Regions from separate parts of the Homo sapiens genome. Here region 1 is linked to region 2. Evidence: promoter capture Hi-C in human tissues and cell types (Jung and others, 2019). All regions are on one chromosome and are shown on one strand. Each heading gives the region's core, a stretch centred on a gene start or on the middle of the fragment in contact. The rest is flanking DNA. Distances are from core to core; before and after follow the strand shown. Region 1 overlaps LOC105376815 (a long non-coding RNA gene). Region 2 holds the start of UBR4 (ubiquitin protein ligase E3 component n-recognin 4).

Region 1 (4,606 bases), core at 1,646-4,145, 200 kb before region 2:
TTTTGTGTGTCTTATAGTGTATATGATACAAGTGTACAGTAGTGCACGTATATAACTTAGTTATAAATAAATCTCCATATAATGGAGGGTTTATTTCCAGCATGCTTCTAAAGGTTGGAAACACTAGTCCAGCTGATAAAATATTTCCTCTTTAGCAGTCCTGGAATGTCCAGCATAGTCAAGGCTTTGCTTCTCCCTCCAGTTTCATCTGCCACCTCCCTCACTGATATGGTTTGGCTGTGTCCCCACCCAAATCTCATGTTGAATTGTGGCTCCCATAATTCCCATGTGTTGTGGGAGGGACCTGGTGGGAGATAATTGAATCACGGAGGTGGCTTCTCTCATAGTGTTCTCGTGATAGTGAATAAGTCTCACGAGATCTGATGATTTTATAAGAAGAAACCCCTTTGGCTTGGTTTTCATTTTGTCTTGTCTGCTACCATGTAAGACATGCCTTTTGCCTTCTGCCATGATTGTGAGGCCTCCCCAGCCACATAGAACTGTGAGTCCATTAAACCTCTTTTTCTTTATAAATTACCCAGTCTCGGGTAGTCTTTATCAGCAGCATGAAAACGGAGTAACACACCCATCCCCCAGCAAGCCGCACCAAACCATATCTGTTCCCTGAATATCCGTATTCTCCCCTCCAAGCCATTCCCCTCCAAGAGGTTCCCATCACCCCACCCCCTTCACCTCCTGGCTAACCTCCTCAGTTCCTCCACTGCAGCTCACAGGCTAACCCAGGTCAGATATCACCTCTGCCAGGAAGTCTCTCTGGAACACTCCTCCTCTCTAGCCCAACCCATCCAGGTTAGGTGCCCTTCCTCTGCATTTCCATAGCACCCTGTGCTTACCCGCACCACAACGCTGACCACATGACTTAGTAATTACCTATTTAACCCTTTGTGACTTCCCCTGATTCGCTGGTGGCCACCCAGCCCAGTGCCTGTCACATAGCCATCTTCTAGCAAATGGTGAAAGAATAAACAAACAATAATTGCAAACATGTATGTAGCACTTTCCAAATGCCAGACACTGATTACAGATCAGGAAACAGAGGCACGGAGAAGTCAAGGTACTTGTCAGGGTCACAGAACTAAATGGCAGAGCTGGGCTTCAAACCCAGGCAAACTGGCTTCAGAGTCCATGCTATCCATCGTTATGCTACGATGTCACTCAGCAGAAGAATGAATGAATAAATGAATGAACAAATAAAGATAGGAATGAAGGAGGGAACAAATGAATGAGCAAAGGAATAATTTAAGTAAAGGAATGCCCAGGGGCCTGGTCCCGGGCTGCTTTGCAGACATCAACCAATTGCACTGTCTTTAAGTTGCCCTTGTCATTGTCCATCTGATGCCATTTTTCATATTTTAGTTGCTGCCTGTGGAGGCACCAGAAGTTTGTCCCTCCTCCCCCTTCACCCCTGTACCAGGATCAACCAGATCTCCCTCCCTTCCTAACTCCCCCATTGCAGCTCACAGGGTAATGAGCATCAGTACTGCAGAATCACTGCATGTTACAGCTGGAAGGTACACTTAGCACTATCCAGTCCAATCTTCCATTTTGTAGATGGAAAAATGGAGGCCCAGAGAGGCAAAGCAATTTCCCCAAGGTCACACAGCAAGTTAGTGGCAGAGTCAAGAGTGGGCCCAGTCTCCTGATTTTCCATCTGTCTCCCTTTACTAAGCTGTCTCTATTGCTTGAACTTTGTCAATCGAAAGCCATTCGGGGCAAAGTACAACAGATGGGTTTAGTGAGTTCTCAAATGCACTGTTGAGAAAAGTTCCTGGGAATAGGGAGGTGAGAAATGCAAGGTCAAGGCCCTGCAATTTCCTCCAGGCAGGGAAATAAATAACCAAAACCATCACTGAGGACTCACCATGTGCTAGATGCTTCCCTGCATTATCCCATTTCGTCCTCCGACAGATAGTAACTATCCTGGTTTTAGATATGAGCAAATTGAGGTTCAGAGAGGTAAACAGAGCGATCAACACATCCCCAGTTTCTTGGCACTGTCCCAGTTCTAAAACTGGAAGTCCCATGTCTCAGGAACCCCTTTAGTCCCAGGCAAACCAGGACAGTGGGTCACCCCCGAGGTAAGCAGCCCACCCAGAGGACTGGATCCCAGAGATCCAAGCTCAGACCTCCTGTGGATTTCCATGCCCTTTCTCCTACACCACACTGCACCCTCTGGGAAAATACATAAACTCTCATGGGAAAAATAAACAGATAAGCAGGTGGGGTCAGGAGTGGGGAGTGGGAAGTGGGCCAGAGGAGGGTGGGCACCAAGAGGCAGTTCTGAAGTCAGGTCAGCCCTGGGTCACAGCAGCCCAGCCATCTGGGAGGTAGAATGCTACTGGGTGTCAGGCCAGGAGAGGACAAACAAGGTTCTTATTCTTCCCTCTTTATCTGGAGGAGTCTGTTTGTGGCAATAACCCTGTTATCTCAGCCAGGTCTCTGGTCTCTTGCCAGGCTGTGACAAGGGGTTTAGGGGCTGAGGCTCTGACCAAACCAGTCTCCCTGGGACCCTGGCATGCTCTCCCTCCTCATCTGACAACCTGATCGGGGTCGAGGAGGCATGGTGAGCACCACAGGGCAGGGGACCCCTGCCCACCCATGGAGGCCACAGGGAGATGAGGACCCCACACTTGGACAGTGGATTTCCCTGTCGTCACGAGGGGATTTGAGAGTAGCTGACCTCCTGCTAGGAGCCAGACTCCTGACTGCTGTGGTCTCTTTCAACCTTCTCCTCCCTAAAGCACTCAGACAGGCATCCTCACCTCTACCTTACAGAAGCGGAGGGGATGTCCCTTAGAGAAGTCACATAGCATGTCGGTGACACAGGGCGGCCAGGGCACAGCAGTGACTCCAACTCTCCCTGCCTCCCAAGCCTCCTCACGAGACTGTCAAACAATGGTGGAGACATAGACTCTGTCTTGGCTGCGTGTCTCTGTGACTTGCTTACCACACCACACCTGCCCAGACACCTCTCCTGCCCGGACACCTCTCCCACCCTCCTCCACAGGGTGATTTGTCCTCGTCCTAGGACCTCAAGCTTGGCCTCCCCTGACCTTCAGGCTGGGGTGAGTGCCCTGTCTTAGAACTCATGGTGGCCTCTGCTGGGGCAACCACAGTTCGTGGGGATTGGGGTGTAAAAAGCACCTCCTGACCCCTTCTGCACTAAGACCCCAAGAGGACAGGAACTGACTCCCTACCCCAGCACTGATATATTAGGTTGGTGCAAAAGTAATTGCATTAATTGCATTAAAAGTCATGGCAAAAACGAAAACATTAAGTAGTTTTTGCCATTACTTTTTTTTTTTTTTTTTAGACAAAGTCTCACTCTATTGCCCAGGCTGGAGTGCAATGGCACAATCTTGGCTCACTGCAACCTCTGCCTCCCGGGTTCAAGCGATTCTCCTGCCTCAGCCTCCTGAGTAGCTGGGATTACAGATGCGCACCACCACGCCTGGCTAATTTTTGTATTTTAGTAGAGATAGGGTTTCACCATATTGGTCAGGCTGGTCTCGAACTCCTGACCTCATGATCAACCCACCTCAGCCTCCCAAAGTGCTGGGATTACAGGCGTGAGCCCCTGCACCCAGCCAGCCATTACTTTTCATTGTAATTCATGCAATTAGTTTTGCATTAAAAGTAATGGCAAAAGATACTTAATATCTATTTGTTGCACAAACAAATAAGTAGATTAATTAATTCATTGCCAAATACTCTTGAGCTCCAATTCAGTCAGGTGGCATCCTGAAGGCAATGGCCCACCTAAAAGTCTCCCAGCTGCTGCCTCTGTTCCACCCCCCCCCACCCTCCCACTGGCCTTCCTCCGTCACCACTTGACTCAAAGTGTGGTCCCCAGATCCACAGTACCAGCATCACCAAGAGCTTGTTGGAAATGGAACAACTCCGTCCCCCCCAGACCCCGGGACCCTGGGCTGAGAGCCTGAAAACTGTTAGAAATCGTGACATACTGTCTTAGGTGAGCCTTGCTACAAGACCTAAAGTGTGCTGGCGTTATTCACATCGCTACAGATGAAGCTGGGGTTCAGGGAGGGGAGATAGCTTCTCAAGATTAAACAGCCAGGAAATGGTAGAGGTGGGATTCAAACTTGGGTTTGTCTCTCTTCAAAGCAGATGGAAATTGACGCTGCTATCCATGTGGTGAAAGGAGAGAAACCTGCATTTACTGAACACCCACAATGTGCCAAGTCCCGTACGACTCTGTCTCATTTCATCTTCCCCACTCCCTTATGAAGTAGGGGATCTCACATTCTCGTTTTACAGATGAGACTCCGAGGCGCAGGAAGGGGAGGTGACTTGCCCAAGGTCCACAGCTGGGAAACAGCTGAAATGGGGCGCAAAGCTGGAAGTCTGCTCCCCAACCTGGGGAATGGACACCAGGTGACGACATATAGTGCCCTCGCTCGGCAGCAGGCACTGGCTCTCAGGGGACTGCGGGGTCACTGCTTAGCTCACACCTGTCCTTTCTCTCCCCTGAGAGAGCTTGTGGCCTTGGGCCACATCCATGCTTTCTTTTTCTTCCTAACCCTCAGCCCTCAGCTTAGTCATTCTCCAGCCCTGATGGAGCACA
Region 2 (4,736 bases), core at 1,795-4,294:
CAACAAGGCCCACCTCAGCATCTACAGTGTTGGCTTTCATCTGGTACTATAGCTTCCTATGCAAGACATACTCCCACAATTCTGAGACCTTTACTTTTTAGAAAGACAAATAAATAAAACCTTTGGGCTGGGTGCAGTGGCTCACGCCTGTAATCCCAGCACTTTGGAAGGCCAAGGCGGGCGGATCACCTGCGGTCAGAAGTTCAAGACCAGCCTGACCAGCATGGTGAAACCTCGTCTCTACTACAAATACAAAAATTAGCCGGGTCTGGTGGCGCACATCTATAATCCCAGCTACTTGGGAGGCTGAGGCACGAGAATCACTTGAACCTGGGAGGCGTAGGTTGCAGTGAGGTAAAATCGTGCCACTGCACTCCAGCCTGGGTGACACAGCAAGACTCTGTCTCCAAAAAATAAATAAATAAATAAAACTTTTGAAAACCAGAATAATGATAGCAGGGTATAATTTGTGTGCTCCAAGCTAGGGGTTGGCAAACTATGGCCTGCAGGCCAAATCCAGGAAGTCACCTGTTTTTGTATGGCTAAGAGTGGTTGAAAAAAAAAAAATCAAAAGAATAGTTTGTGACATGTAAATATTACATGAAATTCAAATTTCAGTGCCCATAGATATAATTTTAAACACAGCCATGCCCATTCATTTATATATGGTGTGTGGCTGCTTTCACACAATGATGGCAGAGTTAAACAGTCCAGACAGAGACCACATGTCCCAAAATTATCTACTATCTGGCCATTTACAGGACGTTTGCCAACGCCTGCTTTATAACAAACTGAACACTTGATACGTTTAGCTGTTCTCACTGTAAAGAACTTGTAAGCCAGGTATTTCTTCTGGAAATTTTTCTTTAGATCATACTCCTCTCACACAGCCTGCAGAGGACACATAGGCTTTCAAAGCTAACTGAGCTCCAAAAACCAGAAGACTTAAAAGATCTTGCCTTCCGGCTGGGCACGGTAGCTCATGCCTGTAATTCCAGCACTTTGGGAGGCCAAGGCGGGTGGATCACAAGGTCAGGATATGGAGACCATTCTGGCTAACATGGTGAAACCTCATCTCTACTTAAAATACAAAAAGTTAGCTGGGCGTGGTGGCAGGCACCTGTAGTCCCAGCTACTTGGGAGGCTGAGGCAGGAGAATGGTGTGAACCTGGGAGGTGGAGCTTGCAGTGAGCTGAGATGGCGCCACTGCATTCCAGCCTGGGTGACAGAGCAAGAATCCATCTCAAAAAAAAAAAAAAAAAAAAAAAGAGATCTTGCCTTCCAATAAATGCGTTACCAAAGACCCATCAGTTTGGACTTATTTTCTAAGCCATAAAGAGAGATCTTATTAATGTCTACAAATACAACTCTTGATTATTTGTACAAACAGAGGGTATGGCAAAGACCACTACCACATACATGGCAAAATTCAAACCTAGTGATGTATTTGGTTGGAGGGTGTTCCTTAAGTATTACAGCTTTAAAGGTGGCCCCAGAATACAGGATTTATGGAAGGGTGTCAACAAATTATTAATATTTTATAACCTATCCAGCTCATGTCCAGAAAAACATAAAAGCAAATGCTCTAAAAAGACTGGAACGTTACTGATTCTACGTAACATGAGTATGAGTCAGGAAAAATACTGCCAATCCAAATGTTTAAAACAAAAAGCAGCCACGTAATTTGAAAGTAGTATATTTGAAACCTGTTTACATCTTCAGAACATTCCTGGCCTGATGATTAGATAGCAAAATCCGTCTGTAAAGCTGACTGTGAAGTTACCAAACTCAACCATTATTTTATTATAATTTGTTAAAAACTCTGCATCCAAAGGATTACAAGTCTACAACAAGAAAAAGCACAAAAACAATTTGTCAAACCGTGGGCCTCCTTTGAGTAACAAATAGCAATTTTTAACCTCTGGATAGCAGCTAGATATACCCTTGTCATCGTGAAGCTAAAATGACCCAGTTAACAATTGCAGGGAGTTGCTGAAATGAGGTATGGCTAGAAAAATGAAAGTCAGTCTGGCTTTAAAAGCAAAAGTCTACCATTAAACTAATGAAAGACTGCTCTGAGCACAGTATGTCAGGAAAAGGCAGGCACTCTGAGATCACCATCTTTGTACCTACATAACTGTCACTAGCTAAGAATCGCTGTGCAAAAAGACAAAAACACACAAAAGGAAACCAACAGATAGTACCGTTTGTAAAAGAATGTGATGATATTTTAATGCGAGGGGGATGGGAGGCAGCAAGAGAACACACACACCACACATCCTCTGGGAAAATGATCTCTCAGACACACACTGAAATGTTTTTAATCAAAGACCGATACAGTAGGAATGCACAAGGAGTGCAACGTAAAAAGAGGTCATCAATGTAGCTAGTGGCTTCAGTCACAGAAATAGCACGTGCCCCCACTGATTACAGCACCGCGGGGAGACCGTTATTAAATTATACCGTACGGCTCCGCTCCGGCCCAGGCTAGGAGGATGAGTGCGGGCGAGAAATGCAAACTCATCTGTGACTTGACCCAAGGGGCAGCCCCGTGAACATTCCCTTAAGAGGGCGAATGCATCTCACTCTCAACCATGTCCGGCCACGCCCTCCCGCAGGGAGGCCGCTAAAGTTTTGCTCGAGAGGGGAAACTGAGGTAGAGGTGATTTACATGCGTTGGCGGAGGGAAACCCAGGCAAGCCAGTCTCCCCGGGCCCGGGACCCCGAAGCCGTGGCTGTGGCGGGGATCCTCAAGGGGGCAGGGGGCGGCCCGGAAAGCGGGTCCAGACGATCCGGCTCGAAATCCCCTCCCCCCACAACAGCGTCGCCCGCCAGAGCCGCCGCCCGGTACCTCTCGATGACTGAGGCCACCAGCTGCGGCAACTCCTTCATCTCGAAGGCGGAGTAGGACGCGGACAGCAGGGGCCGCACAGCCACCTCCCAGCCCGGGGTCGTGTCCGCCCCCGTTGCCGGGGTCCCCGGCGCCGGAGCCGCTGCCGCCGCCTCTTCGCCGCCGCTCGTCGCCATCTTCCGTCGTACTACTGCGGCTCCCTCCGGGGGCTTGCCACCGGCCCAGCGCCGCCTCCCAGGAGGGGGCGGAAGTGACGCAATCTGTCGCGTCAGACTGCGCGCCGCCGTCATGGGTCAAAAACGCGACGCGCGGAGCGGCCTTTGCTCTCACCGGGGTCGAGCCGCGGCGAGGGAACGGATCGGAGACGCTGCGCCTGCTCAGAAGGTAGCGCAGCGGGGAAAGGCGGGAGAGCGTTAACTTCTGAGCCTGCGCGGTGGGAGTTGCTCAAGCAGGTGGTAGCGACTTGGCTTCCGGGCAGCGGGTAAAGGTGAGTCTGGGGCATGGGTTCAGTGGGCAAGTCTAGGGCAGCAGAGTTGACTACGCCTCGGCGTATAGAATGGCCCTGGCCTGGGACAGCTAAGGACGACAAGAGGAGGCCGAAGCCTAAAACGCTTTCACCTGCTTCTTCCCCTGCCTAGATCCCCCCAATAGTAATACTAAAGAGCGCCATAGTTTACAAAGATTTCTCCCTCTCACAACACCTTTTAATCACTGATCCGTATTCCCTTAGCACTCAAATCTCTTCTGTTTGGATTGCCCTCATTAACAATCTGACCAGCTCGTACAATGCATCCCTCTTTGCAATTTGCCACGTATGCTTACGTGTTCCCCTTTTTTCTACTGGCAAGGAAAGAATGTAAGCTTTTATTCACAGGAGATGTCTGAGACTTTTGCCGGTAAAATGATCTGGCTACAAGGTCTAAGAGGGAAAAGCAGTTTGCTCGAGGAAAGGTATTCGTGCATTAAGGACAGTCCTGTGAGTGAGATATTGGTGGACGGCTTCAAGCTCTAGCCTGTGGCCTACAGCTGGCCTAAATAAGACTGGGAAGGAACTGTGAAGACGGTTTCAAATTCCTAAAGCCCTGAAATTCTCCCCCTAAGTTTAGGAAGAGCTTTTGTTCTTGGTGTGTAACACTGATAAATGAATTGGTACCTAGTGATTAATCTGCACTTTTATTAAGATATGACCTACTTTACCTTTTTTGAGACAGGATCTTGCTCTGTCGCCCAATAGCCCAGGCTGGAGTGCAGTGGCAGAGTTGCAGCTGGCTGCAGCCTCCACCTCCCTGGCTCAAGTGATCTTCCAGCCTCAGCCTCCCCAGTAGCTGAGACTATACAGGTGCAGGCCACCACTCTTAATTTTTTTTGTTTGTTTTTAAGAGACAGGTCTCCCTACGTAGCCCAAGCTGTTTTCGAAGTCCTAGGTTCCTCCCACCTTGGACTCCCAAAGTGCTGGGATTACAGGCTTGACCCACTGCGCCCAGCCTGCATCTTTACATTCGAAATAAAATTCAGTCAAGTCAAAGCCGGTCTTGGAGGAAAATGTGGCTTTGATGACAGCAGTAGGGATTTTCCTTCAGTGCCTACTTACCAGAGGATAATAATAACAGCAAGTTTCTTAAACATAAAAACATCAGAAATGAAAAAGAACTTTCCATAACACTATAAATATTGCAGTATTTCAAGATACTGAACCAGAGCCCTAAGGAAAGGCTGGAGACCCAGAATTTTATAATGGCTTTGGGACATGAATTTTATTTTAACCAGAGGACAAAATTAATCTGCAAAAGCTGTCTTGGAGAAATTTCAGGAAATAAAAGATCAAATGTATCTGCTGTCCTCCCTTCCCTCTCCAGGAGAATAAAAGGCAAATGCAAACTATCAC

Evidence for each region. Contacts are between HindIII fragments. The study calls those that stand out against the background at their distance.
Region 1: a fragment that was not itself captured here is called in contact with the fragment with the promoter of UBR4 in region 2 in 1 of the 25 tissues and cell types used here (pancreas).

What each region holds. Positions count from the first base shown.
Region 1 is chr1:19,005,376-19,009,981 of GRCh38, forward strand. The region is part of intron 1 of LOC105376815 (a long non-coding RNA gene); the gene reads right to left. Among named protein-coding and RNA genes, the nearest start is that of IFFO2, 51 kb to the left of the region's middle. RefSeq lists an enhancer at 2,910-3,553. The HindIII fragment of the contact is 6,337 bases long and covers 1-4,606 here.
Region 2 is chr1:19,207,222-19,211,957 of GRCh38, forward strand. It overlaps UBR4 (ubiquitin protein ligase E3 component n-recognin 4), which reads right to left and starts at 3,045. Exons shown (of 106, transcript NM_020765.3): 1 at 2,852-3,045. The coding sequence starts at 3,027. EMC1-AS1 (EMC1 antisense RNA 1) reads left to right here and starts at 3,165. Exons shown (of 2, transcript NR_135114.1): 1 at 3,165-3,338. RefSeq lists silencers at 2,715-3,034, 4,060-4,129 and enhancers at 3,085-3,134, 3,385-3,434. The HindIII fragment of the contact is 7,870 bases long and covers 1-4,336 here.